2 separate regions of the Homo sapiens genome follow, and region 2 is linked to region 1. Evidence: promoter capture Hi-C in 16 types of primary human blood cells and fetal thymus (Javierre and others, 2016). All regions are on one chromosome and are shown on one strand. Each heading gives the region's core, a stretch centred on a gene start or on the middle of the fragment in contact. The rest is flanking DNA. Distances are from core to core; before and after follow the strand shown. Region 1 holds the start of TEX30 (testis expressed 30). Region 2 holds the start of BIVM-ERCC5 (BIVM-ERCC5 readthrough).

What was found. The method cuts DNA at HindIII sites, captures the fragments that hold promoters and counts their contacts. A CHiCAGO score of 5 or more calls a contact.
Region 2: a contact is called between a fragment that was not itself captured here and the fragment with the promoter of TEX30 in region 1, in 1 of 17 cell types (fetal thymus). The highest score is 5.4, in fetal thymus.

Annotation. Positions count from the first base shown.
Region 1 is chr13:102,769,580-102,775,816 of GRCh38, forward strand. TEX30 (testis expressed 30) reads right to left here and starts at 4,207. Exons shown (of 6, transcript NM_138779.5): 1 at 4,103-4,207; 2 at 433-507. The coding sequence starts at 447. RefSeq lists enhancers at 3,962-4,639, 4,640-5,317 and a silencer at 4,040-4,379. The HindIII fragment of the contact is 5,388 bases long and covers 2,064-6,237 here.
Region 2 is chr13:102,807,089-102,813,591 of GRCh38, forward strand. BIVM (basic, immunoglobulin-like variable motif containing) reads left to right here. Exons shown (of 11, transcript NM_017693.4): 3 at 58-657. The coding sequence starts at 180. It overlaps BIVM-ERCC5 (BIVM-ERCC5 readthrough), which reads left to right and starts at 58. Exons shown (of 23, transcript NM_001204425.2): 1 at 58-657. The coding sequence starts at 180. The HindIII fragment of the contact is 1,157 bases long and covers 868-2,024 here.

The sequences.
Region 1 (6,237 bases), core at 2,957-5,456:
CTTGCCTATTAAGACAACTGAACAGCTATATATATGTTTGCTCTGTGAGGCTCATAATTCAAGTCATAGCCTCCAAATAAAAAGTAGTGATATTAATAATAGTAGTTAAGTGCTTACTGTGTCGGGTATTATTATAAGTGCTTTATATGTATTAACTTATTTCACTTTTCTAACAATTCTGTGAGGCAAGCACTATCATTATCCCCATTTTATAGATAAGGCACAGCAGATTAAGTAACTTGCCCAAGGTTATATAGCCGCTAGCTAGGATTTAAACTCAGGGTAGTCTGCTCTAGATTCCTCGCTCTTAACCACTTATGCTATACTGCCTCCCACAGTGAAAGTTGAAAATAAAATTACTCTGAAGCCACATAATTACAAACAAACAAAAAACCAGGAACCCTGAAGATGCAGAACATACGAAAATATTACCTCTGTATGACTCATTTTCACTGTTGAATAACAAACTTAAAGTGCATTTACATCTGAGAAGCAAAGGACATCTCCCTGAAAAGAAGATTCTGTTGTGAAAGGTGAGTTGGCAGACATGGATATGACACAAAAACTATGAATGAACACATTCAGTAGCTAAAATAAACATTTAGAATTACTTCCCTAAAATCTGGTGTCTTTACATGTACATTTTTCTACGGGCACTCAGAATTGGTTAGAGGGCCAGGTGCAGGGTTGGTAGATGTTATAGAAGATAAAACAAAGGTGATACTTTGACATGGAAACTGTAAGGTAATTCATATCAAAGTAGGATGCTGTATCTTGTCAAAATATGGTAATGTAAAATGTATAAATACACATTTTTGTAAGAATCTTCATTCTAAACCAACTATCCTAAACTTAATTTTTCAGCATCTTTCCATTAACCCATTTTCTTCATCATTATAGTTCCCAAGCCTACCCATCCACATCTTGTCATGGAACTTCACAGTGCTGCTAGAAGGCAGAGTATATATGTCTTCACCCTGTTTACTTTGGACTTGGCTACGTAACTTGTTTTAACTAATGGAATGTAGGTAGACATTTCAATGTGTGACTTCTGAGCTGAGGCATGGCAAACTTCCAGAAGCCCTTTTGAACTTTCACCCTCAGCCATGAGAAAAACATGCTCTAGGTGGTTTTGCATTTTCAGCCTGGGTCTCAAAATGAAGACACACGGAACAGAACTGAACCCAAAACTGAAGTCTGGAGTCCAGACTAGTCTAACCAACATCTGACCAACAGCTGATCTGAAGATCCATGAGCATAAAATGTAAGCCACTGAAATTTTGGGGTTGTTATGCAGCATTCCTTCCTATGTTAAGAGCTCTTGTATTGTTTAAGACATTACCAACATCAGGATCTCCATTACTCACCCATTTTTCCCATTAACATTTATTTATTCATTCATTCAATAGGTAACAATAACATGGTTTAAAGTTCAAAAGGTACCAAGAATATGTAGTGAAAAAGTCTCACTCATTCCACTCTTGACTTGACATCAGATTCCCCTCTCCAAAGGTAACCAATATTATCTGCTTCTTACTTATCCTTCCACATAGCACTGTACTTATTTTCACACGATGTAAGTGTATTTATAAGATAAATTCCTGGGGAAGGAATCGCTGTGTCAAAGGGTTTGTTCATAATTTTTTACAGAATTTTTTCATAGAACTTCCCAAGGTGAATACATTTCATTTTTGAATAGGTATCATGTGCACACGGTACATTAAAAAAATGTAAACAGAAGTCAAAGTATTTGTTCATAATTTACAGAATATGTTTTTCATAGATCTTCCTGAGGTGAAGAATACATTTCATTTTTGAATAGGTATCGTGTGTACATGGTACATTTTAAAAGACAATGTAAACAGAAGTTTCCACACACTCTTCCCCCAACCACCAAGTTCCTTTCACTTCCTAGAAACCACCATAAGCAACTTATTATGTACCTTTCCCCATCTGTGTGTGTGAGCGTGTAGAATTCTCTTATTTCAGCCTGGAGAGCATTAGTCTGATCTGACTGCAAAAGTTTTGGAAGTTGAGTGAGACAAAGGAGATGAAAGACTTCAAGCTTCAGTGTCCCTATCTTCATACATGCAGCCCCACAATTATGCCTGGGTTTCTCAGTTCAAAGATCCTCTGTTTTACTTTCTCAAGAGAATAAGCCTCCATCCAGTCTTCTAACAAGGGGAAAGGCAGTCACCCAACAGGTGAAATGGGGAAGGGGATCTGGATATCCAATTGCTTCTCAGATTTCACCTAAATCATCTTTCTTTAAGCTCCTTACACCCACCTTCTGCACCACACCACCTTCATTCCCAGTACCACCGCTGTCCAGTGCTGCCAGTTTCCGTGCAGTTTGAAGATTCTGTGGTTAATACAGGGTTTGCTAAGCCATACATGTTTTGGAGCCCGCTATTTGATTGCCAGCGTTTCCTTTCCTATTCTCCCATTGCTGGAGGTTCATGTTTGTTTTTAAATAGCCTTAATGTAAGTTTAGTGAAACTTCATGAAGGAGTAAATTTAGATGCATGTAAACAACCACTATCTTAATTTAGAATGCTTCCCTATTTTTTTTTTTTTTGAGACAGGTTCTCGCTCCGGCGGACAGGCCGGAAAATTGAGTGGCGCAATCATAAGCTCACTGAATCCTCGAACTCCTGAGCTCAAGCGATCCTCTCGCCTCAGCCTCTTGAGTAGGTGGGACTACAGACGCTCACCACCACGCCCGCTTATTATTTTTAAATGTTTTTGTAGAGACGAGGGTCTCCCTATGTTTCGCAGGCTGGTCTTGAACTCCCGGGCTCAAGCGATACCCCCTGCCTTGGCCTCCCAAACCGTTGGGATCCCAAGGCGTTTGCCACCTCTCCCGGTCTGCTTTACTTCTTTTCAGACTTCACGATGCACAGTGTGTTCTTCACGGCAGCTGCACACATGCTGGTTTTCTTCAGAAACACGGAAAATGCCCCATAATGCAATCCCCAAGCAACCTGCTCTAGGTCATCTGGGTTTGTTTTTTTGAGACAGAGTCTTGCTCTGTCCCCCAGGCAGGAGTGCAGCGGCGCGATCTCGGCTCACTGCAGCCTCTGCCTCCCGGGTTCAAGAGATTCTCCAGCCTCAGCCTCCCGAGTAGCTGAGATTACAGGCGTCCGCCACCGCGCCCAGCTAATTTTAGTAGAGACGGGGTTTCACCATGTTGGCCAGGCTGGTTTTGAACTCCTGACCTCAGGTGATCCACCCGCCTCGGCCTCCCATGGTGCTGGGGTCAGGCGTGAGCCACCGTGCCAGGCCACTGTCGTCTGGGTTTTCATCTCTGGCTTCAGGTTCAGAGAGGGCAGGGTTTGAAGCCTGGCCCGGCCTCAGTGCCCTCAATGGCGATGGTGAAGATGACCGGCTAGAGGTGCTGCGCCCACGAAACGCCAGCTCTAGTGGCGTCCGGAGCGCCGGCTCCACCGGCTAGGCGGTCGGCGGAGTTCTAGGACGACAACTACTCACAAGGGCTGGGCGATCACCTCCCACGCCACGGGACGGAGACGCCACAGCCCCTTCAACTTTCAGTTACAAACGTTCGTGCCCTGTTACGTCCACAGCATTAAGCTGGCTGTCGTGGGGCAAACAAAAACGTTGAGTCCGAGTCTTACGGGGGGTCGGGTCAACAACCCCAGCAAACATGGAGAGAAAATTCAAAGCGGGTCTCACGGGCGTGCGGGGCTCGGCGGCGCTCGGGGCACGGGATCCGTTCTCTCCGCAAATGCGCGCTGCCGGGGCTGCGCCGCGGGCTGCCCCGGTCGACCCCTCTCAACTCCGAGGCTACTTCGAGCCAGTCACCCGGGACTGGCTGACGTGGTCCAGGTTGGCCCCGTCCGGCTCTCCCCGCCCGTACCAACCCCACATTCCGCCCTCCTACCCGGCAAAGCGGACGAAGCCCCCACCGGCTGGTGCCCGCGGGCACCGAACTTAGCGGAACGCCTCCCGGCTCGGACCAGACGCCCCTGAGGAGTGACGCCCGCGAGCCTCAAACGTCTCAGGCGGGCCTGCCGGGTGCTCTCCCCGTCTCCCAGGAAGCCGCCCGTCAGCCGGCGGCGCCAACCGCCACCGCCGCACTTACCCGGGAAGGCAAAAGTGGCCGCGGGCACCCAACCGCCGTCACTCCCTTCAGGGAGCTGACTAGCGCGCTCGAAGCGACCGCCTCGCCTGCCCCGCCACAGCGTTCGGCTACGACGCACGCGCGCGCAGGCCACGCCCCCCGGGTGCGCGGGCCGGGCCGCAGAGCACGCCGGGAGCGTGGGTCTCCCAGCCCGCCACATCCCAGGGCTGTACGCGCGGACTAGCGGAGCTAGGGGAAGGTGCCAGGGTGGCCGCCGCCTCAGTAGCACGCGGACGGCTGGAAAGTCAGCCCCCGTTTCCGCCTCACCCAGGATTGCTCCACTCGGGGCCTTTCCGCATCCCAGCCACCACTCCATTCCGAGGCGCGATCAGCTCTGACCAGTCTTCCTCACACCCATAGTCGATTCGTTACTCCCGTTAAGGTCAAACGCTGACAGAAACCAGCCGCTTCGCACACTTCTACATGGGGTCAAGCCCCCTGTTATCTTTGCGGGGATGATTGTAACAATCACTTAAATGGTCGCTTCGTACCATCTTGCCCCCGCCTGGGCCTTGTCGGCGACGCCGCAGCCACGTGGATGCTGTGGAAGCCTGTCCCCTGGATCTTCCAAAGGCTCCGCGCTCATTGCCACAGCCAGCGGCCGGCAGTGGCCTAGGCTGTTGCACGCGATCGGTCCCCCACATCTCCCCTCTCCATCTGGCTCCTTTCCCTGGAAGCCCAGGGCAGCCCACACTTCGCTGTCCTCACCCCCACTCACCAGGCGGGACCCCACGACGACCGGCTTTTGTCCTGGCTGCTCCCTCCCAGCGTGGGCCGCGTCTCCTCGGGGTCGACAGGGCGCGTGGTTTTCACAGCGAGGCCTCCCCTGATCACCTCCCCGCTCTTCCTGTCCTTCCCCGGTCACCTCACGAGCTATGGATGTATCTGTGTCTCCTCACTGCGCTATAAGCTCCCAGGTGAAGAAAGGGTTGCTTTTTGTAAATTTTTGTTTTAACCGTGAACCTCTTGTGTATGAATAATGCTCAGAAAAAAAAAAATTTCTTAAATGAATGAATCTTCCCCAAGCCCAGTGCAGTTGGCACCTGCCCTCTTTTCTGTCACGGTACATACAAGGAAATACATTCCACAAAACCACATAGTCGCTGTCATTTATCACAAGTGTTTCCCCAAATTACAAAGTCTTAATACTTCTTTGTCTCCTAATTTTTTAGCTGTGTTTTTAAAAAACATTTCTTTACATGCCATAAAATTCACTCATTTGAAGTGTACCATTCAATCATTTTCAGTAATTTTAAAACCATTTGCAACCATCACTATAATTTAAGAACATTTCCATTATCCCCCTGAAAAGTATTTGCACAGTTATAGTTGAGGTAGGAGATCAGCAGGACTTTCCAAGCACTGATCACCACCTGCTGAGCAAAACAGGATCTGGTCAGAACAGGATGCCCTAAAAAAACGGCCAAAACTGCCCTAAAGAAACAGGCCCAAGCCAGCTAAAACCAGGATGGTGACCAAAGTGACCTCTAGTGCCCTCACTGCTCATTATACACTAATTATAATACATGAACATGCTACAACACTTCCACCAGCACTCTGACAGTTTACGAATGCCATGGCAATGCCCAGACCTTACCTTATATGGTTTAAAAACGGAAGAATTCTCAGTTCCGGGGAACTCCCCACCCCTTTTCTAGAAAATTCGTGAATAACCCACCCCTTATTTAGCGTACGATGAAGGAGTAGGTATAAATATAGCTAGCCAGTGGCCGGGTGCCCTGGCGCATGCCTGTAATCCCAGCACTTTGGGAGACCAAGGCGGGTGGATCACCTGAGGTCAGGAGTTGGAGACCAGCCTGGCCAACACGGTGAAACCCGGCATCTACCAAAAACACAAAAATTACTCAGGCGTAGTGGCAGGCACCTGTAGTCCCAGCTACTCGGGAGCTGAGGCAGGAGAATTGCTTGAACCCTGGAGGCAGAGGTTGCAAAGCCGAGAAGAGCGCACCACTGCACTCCAGGCTGGGCAACAGAGCGAGACTCCGTCTCTCTCTCTCTCTCTCTCTATATATATATATATATACATACACACACACACATATACATATGTGTATATATACACACATATAATATAT
Region 2 (6,503 bases), core at 196-2,695, 35 kb after region 1:
TTAGTGGCTCTTTGTGTATCTGGTGGATTGTTGATCATTCTTTTTCCTTCCTCTTAGGAGCTCATTTTGCAGCTCTCAAGCTTTTATAGCATGCTGTAAACAATTGTCAAAGTTGTTTATCAAGAAACAGATAGAGTTGCAACTTGTTTCTAGTAATAGAAACTTTTACACTGCATTCAATGCCTAACGTTGCAGAAACAGAAAGGTCAAATGATTCTGGAAATGGTGAGCACAAATCTGAGAGAAAGTCACCTGAAGAGAATCTACAAGGTGCTGTAAAATCTTTCTGCACAAGTGCCTCAGGAGCACCCTTGGGTCCCAAAGGAGATGGTCATTATCCATGGAGTTGTCCAGTGACTCATACACGGGAAAAAATTTATGCCATCTGTTCGGACTATGCCTTTCTCAACCAGGCGACCTCAATCTATAAAACTCCAAATCCATCCCGCTCTCCTTGCCTCCCTGATAGTACCTCTTTATCTGCTGGAAATAATTCATCAAGATACATTGGTATCCCGACTAGTACATCGGAAATTATCTACAATGAAGAAAATAGCTTGGAAAACTTATCCAACAGCCTGGGCAAGCTACCTCTCGCATGGGAAATTGATAAATCTGAATTTGATGGGGTGACCACAAATTCGAAACACAAATCAGGTAAGGAGGGAGCCATGAAGTTCATATGTGAAAATAATGAGAAAACAAACACTATGTCTTGTTTAATCTTGCCATTACACATAGTTTCCTTGTATAATACTAGATAAGGAACATGGCTATCATCTTGTCTGTCAATGTAGTTTTAGGAAAGTAACCTTGACGTAGGGCATGTAGTTCATTGCGGGGCTTCCACTGGAAACTTCAAGCATAAGCTTTGTATCAAATATTTTGAGAGATTTGAAAATCTAATAATGTAAAATATTATAAACAGATGGTAGCTTAGAAAATGAAATGTTAATAACATGGCTAGAATAACTTACTACTGTTTCATAGTTTTATAGGCACATGAAGTTGTATTTCCTGACCAAACATCTTTTTTTCCTGCTATATAATGTTTTAGCTTTTTTTGTTGTTAAAATTTTTTAGGCACCCAGCAAAGCCTCCATGTACCACCAAGTGGGTTGTGTACTGCTCAATTTAAGAGGATGCTGTTTACCGAGGTTGTGCATAACTTTCACAGTTGCAATGGGGTGGTCCTATGGCAGATAGAAATACTTTACACTTCTTTCTTTTGAATTCAAAGTAATACAGGAATTTTATGAGGCAGGTACTGTTAGCCCCATTTGTAGGTGAAGAAATTGAGGCTTAGAAGGGATAAATCTCTAGACCGAAGTTGCAGAGTTAATAAGAGGAGGTCAAACTAGGATTTGTATTTACTTCTAGTCTTCTCTGATGATTTTATAAAACCTTAATGCTTCTGCTTGTTTATCTGCAAAATCAATTTGTTTCATAGAATTTTAGGTAAATTTGTAATTCTTAAGGGTAGGAGGGGGATTTTGCTTTTTTTGTCTAAATTTGTAGGTAATGAGTCTGCAATTTTCTTTTTGTCTAATGCCTTTGGCCAGTTTTGGAATTAGGGCTATGCAAATCTTCTAAGAAAAGTTGGGAAGTGTTTTTTCCTCCTGTTTTCTGAGGATTTTCAGAGAGATATTAAAATCTGTATTTATAATTATGGAGTTGTCTTGATTTCTGTTAATTTCTGACAAATTTTAATTTGTCCATGTCATTTAAGTTGTCAAATTTGGGGGCTTAAAGTTAATGTTATCCCTCTAACATCTAAGGAATCTTTGTTGACAACTCCTTTTGCATCCTAATACTGGTAATTAATTTATTTTCTCTATTTTTTTTAAAACTGATCAATCTAGCTAGGAGTTTATCAATTTTGTTAATCTTTTCAAATAACTAGCTTTTGTTAATTTTCTCAATTGTTTGTTTTCTATTTCATTGGTTTCTGCTCTTTATTATTTGCTTCCTCTGACTTACTTTGGGTTTATTTTGTTCTTCATTTTCTGACTTCTTAAGATGGAAGCTTAGATCATTGATTTTAGACTTTTCTACCATAAGCATAGAATACTCCAAATTGCTAAGTACTGCTTTAGCTGCAGCTCACAAATTTTGATATGCTTATTATTATTACTTAATTGGAAATATTTTCTAATTTCCTTTGCAATTTATTCTTTGATACATGTATTACTTAGATGTATGCTGTTTAATTTCTAGATATTAATAGTTTTTCTAAATATTGATTTCTAGTTTAGTTCCATTGTGGACAGAGGGCATATGCTCTCAGTCTTTTTAAATTTACTGAGACTTGTTTTATGACCCAACATATGGTCTATCTTGGTGAATGTGCCATGTGCACTTGAAAAGAATGTGCATTCTGCAGTCATTGGGAGTATCTATAAATATTAATTATGTCGAAGTGTTTGAAAGTGTCATTCACATCTTTTGTGTCTCCGCTTAACTTGTGTCTTGTTCTATCAATTACCAAAAGAAGGGTGTTAAAAATCTTCAACTATGATTGTGAAGTTGTCTTTTCTCCATTTAATTTCTTTTTTAAAAACTAATACATGTCTAATAACAGAAAATTTACTGTCTTAACCATTTTTACGTGTACAGTTTAGTGGCATTAAGTACATTTACGTTGTTGTGCAACCATCATCACTATTCATCTCCAAATCTCTTTCCTTTTCTTTTCTTTCTTTTTTTTTTTTTTCTGAGACAGAGTCTCGCTCTGTCGCCCAGGCTGGAGTGCAGTGGCGCGATCTCGGCTCACTGCAAGCTCCGCCTCCCGGGTTCACACCATTCTCCTGCCTCAGCCTCCCGAGTACCTGGGACTACAGGCGCCTGTCACCGTGCCCGGCTACTTTTTTGTATTTTTAGTAGGGTCGGGGTTTCACCGTGGTCTCGACCTCCTGACCTCGTGATCCGCCCGCCTCGGCCTCCCAAAGTGCTGGGATTACAGGCGTGAGCCACCCCGCCCAGCCCTTCTTTTCATCTTACAAAATAAACTTTGTACCCATTAAACAATAAATCCTCATTCCTTCTCCTCACAGTCCCTGGAAACCACAATTTTACTTTTTGTCACTGTGAATTTGACTATTCTAGGTACCTTATGTAAGTGAAATCATATAGTATTTGTCTTTTTATGACTGGTTTATTTATAGCCACCCCTGCTCTCTTCTGGGTGCTATTTGCTTTGGAATACTTATTTCCATCCTTTTACTTTCAGCCTATTTGTATCTCTAGATCTAAAGTGAGTGTTTCAGAGACAGCATATAGTTAGCTAATTTTTTCTGTTTCTGTTTTTGTGTGTGAACCCACGTATACAAAAACATATTTTTAAAAAAATGCATTCTGCCAGTCTCTATGTTTTGAGTGGAGAATTTAATCCATTTACATTTGAAGTAATCACTGATAAGGAGAGACTTGTCATTTTAGTACTTGTTATTTATATGTAAACACTCTGTTCCTATACTGCTTCGTCCACACTTAACTTTCAGTTATTGATGTTATCAAATTACAAATTTATATATTGTGTGTCTGAAAACATAAACTAATAATTTTTATGTATTAATCTCTTAAATAATGTGGAAAACAAAATGTGGAGTTACAAACCAAAGTTATTATAATAATAGCTTTTTTATTTTTATTTTTTATTTTGAAATAGGGTCTTGCTCTCTTGCCCAGGCTGGAGTGCAGTGGCACGACCATGGCTTACTGCAGCCTTGACCTCAGGCTTAAGCAATCCTCCCACTTCAGCCTTCTGAGTAGCTGGGACTACAGGTGCACATCACCACGACTGGCTAATTTTTAATATTTTTTTGTAGAGATAGAGTCTCACTATGTTGCCAGGGGTGGTCTTGAACTCCTGGGCTCAAGCAATCCTCCTGCCTCGGCCTTCCAAAGTGCTGGGAATACAGGCATGAGCCACTGCTCCTGGCCTACTACTAGCTTTTAAGCTAATAATAATTTCTCAAAAATGTATTAGTCTCATAAATCATATAGAATACAAAAACTGGAGTTGCAAACTAACAAAATAACACTGGCTTTTATAATTGTTCGTGTATTACCTTCACTGAGGTAAATTTATTTCTTCCTATGGCTTTGAGGTACTAGCTAATGTCCTTTCATTTCAACCAGCAGGAATCCTTTTAGCATTCCTTACAGGGCAAGTCTAGTGGTAATAAACTCCTTCAGTTTTTGTTTGTCTGGGAATGTCTGAGTTTCTTCTTCACTTTTGAAGGACAGTTTTGCTGGATTTAGAATTCTTGTTTGAATTTTTTTTTTATTTCAGCACTTTGAATATATCAGCCCACTTCCTTCTGGCTTCCAAAGTTTCTGATGAGAAATCTGTTGATATTCTTATTAACAGTCCATTGTATGTGATGAGTTGCTTCTCTTGTGTTGCTTTTAAGAGTCTTTGTCTTTTTGCAATTTTTAAATTTTTTATTTGATACGGAGTTTTGTTCTTGTTGCCCAGGTTGGAGTGCAATGGCACGATCTTGGCTCACCACAACCTCCACCTTCTGGGTTCAAGCAATTCTCCTGCCTCAGCCTCCCAAGTAGCTGGGATTACAGGCGTGCGCCACCATGCCTGGCTAATTTTGTATTTTTAGTAGAGACGGAGTTTCTCCATGTTGGTCAGGCTGGTCTTGAACTCCTGACCTCAGGTCATCCGCCTGCCTCAGCCTCCCAAAGTGCTGGGATTACAGGCGTGAGCCACCGTGCCCAGCCTTGCAATTTTATTATAACATATATTGGTGTGGGTCTTTCTAAGTTCATCCTATTTGGAATTTGTTGAGTTTCTTGGATGTTTATATTCATGTTTTTTAAATCAAATTTGGAAAGTTTTTAGGCATTATTTGTTTGGATAATCTCCTACCCCTTTTTCAGTGTCTTCTCCTTCTGGAACTTCTGCAATGTATAGGTTGGTCCACTCGATGGTGTCCCCAGGTCCCTTAAGGTCTGTTTACTTTTCTTCAGACCTTTTTTTTTCTGTTCCTCATACTCAATTATTTCAGTTTTCCCATCTTCAAGGTCACTAATTTTTCTGCCTGCTCAAAACTGCCTTTGAATCACTCTAGTGAGTTTTTCATTTCAGTTATTATATTTTTCAGCCCAAGAATTTATTTTTGGTTTTAAGTTTTCTATCTCTTCATTGATATTTCCATGTTCTTCATACATACATCTTTCGTTAGTTCTTTTGGCATCTTTAAGATAGTGGTTTTAAAGTCCTTGTCTAGCAAGTCTGCCATTTGGTCTTTCCAGGATGGTTTCTGTTGGTTTATATATTTTTTTGTTTCTTTGAATGGGCCTTATTCTGTTTCTTGTGATTTTTTGTTGTTGTTGTTGTTGGAAACTAGACATTCAAATATTATTTAATAATGCAGTAACTCTGGAAATCAATACCCATCTTTCCCAGAGTTTGTTGATTTTAGTTTTTGTTTTTTGATTGCTATAGGCTGTTTCTATGCTGGTAATCAACCTGAGGTATACATTTAAGGGCTTCTCAGGGAAAAGCCCCTGCCTTTCTCTGAGTGTGTACAGTGATTTTCTACATTTCCCTGTATAAGTGATTGCTTTTGAATATACTGTTTTTGAAATGTCTGGCTCCCCAAACAGAAAATGGAGAGGAAAAAAAACAGAACAAAAAAACCACACCAAAGGTGCTGGCCCCTTAAGTCCTCTGGAAGTTGCTTCTGTTGTAGTGGGAGGGGCTTGCAACATTGGAGGGAGAGTTGCAACAATGGCTGCCCCCCTGTATCTGTGCTTTCAAGATCAGAAGCAGCAGTCAGCAATCAGAACACAGATTTCCAATTTTCATAGGACATGGACCTTTTTGCCCACCATGGTTCCCACAAACTGCCTGAAGCTTCTCCAGGAGCATATGCACAGTTTCTTGGACTTGGGGATAGGTAGTTGTACCTTGCTATGTGCTGAAATTGACCAAAATTTGCATTTACTGTTCAGGACTTCCTCTGAAAGTTGCAATCCTTTGAATAGACTCTGGAATTCCAAAATAATTACATCAGACAGATTCTGCCAGTGCAGTTGTCTAGGTGGGGAGACAGATTCCTGGTGCCTCCTACACTGCACTTAATTCTGTTAATTTTTTTAAAAATGTAATTTGAAGCTCTGTTATTAAGTTCACATACATTTATGAGATTTAGGCCTTCTTCCTGAATTGACCCTTTTATCATTATGAAATATATTTCGTTATTCCTGGAAGTATTTCTTGTTCTGAAAGTTACTTTGTTTGATATTAATAAAGCTCCTCAGCTTTATTTTGATTATATTTGCATGGTATATATTTTTCCATCTATTTATTTTAGTTCTAGAATTTACATTTTTATAGCTTCTATTTCTCATCTGAGATTTGCTATATTTTTCATTTATTACAAGAGCATTTTATCTATGTCATAATGCAGAGTTATAATATCTACTTTAATTTCTTATCTGCAAATTTCAAAATCTGGCTAATCTCACAGTAGGCCTTATCTTTT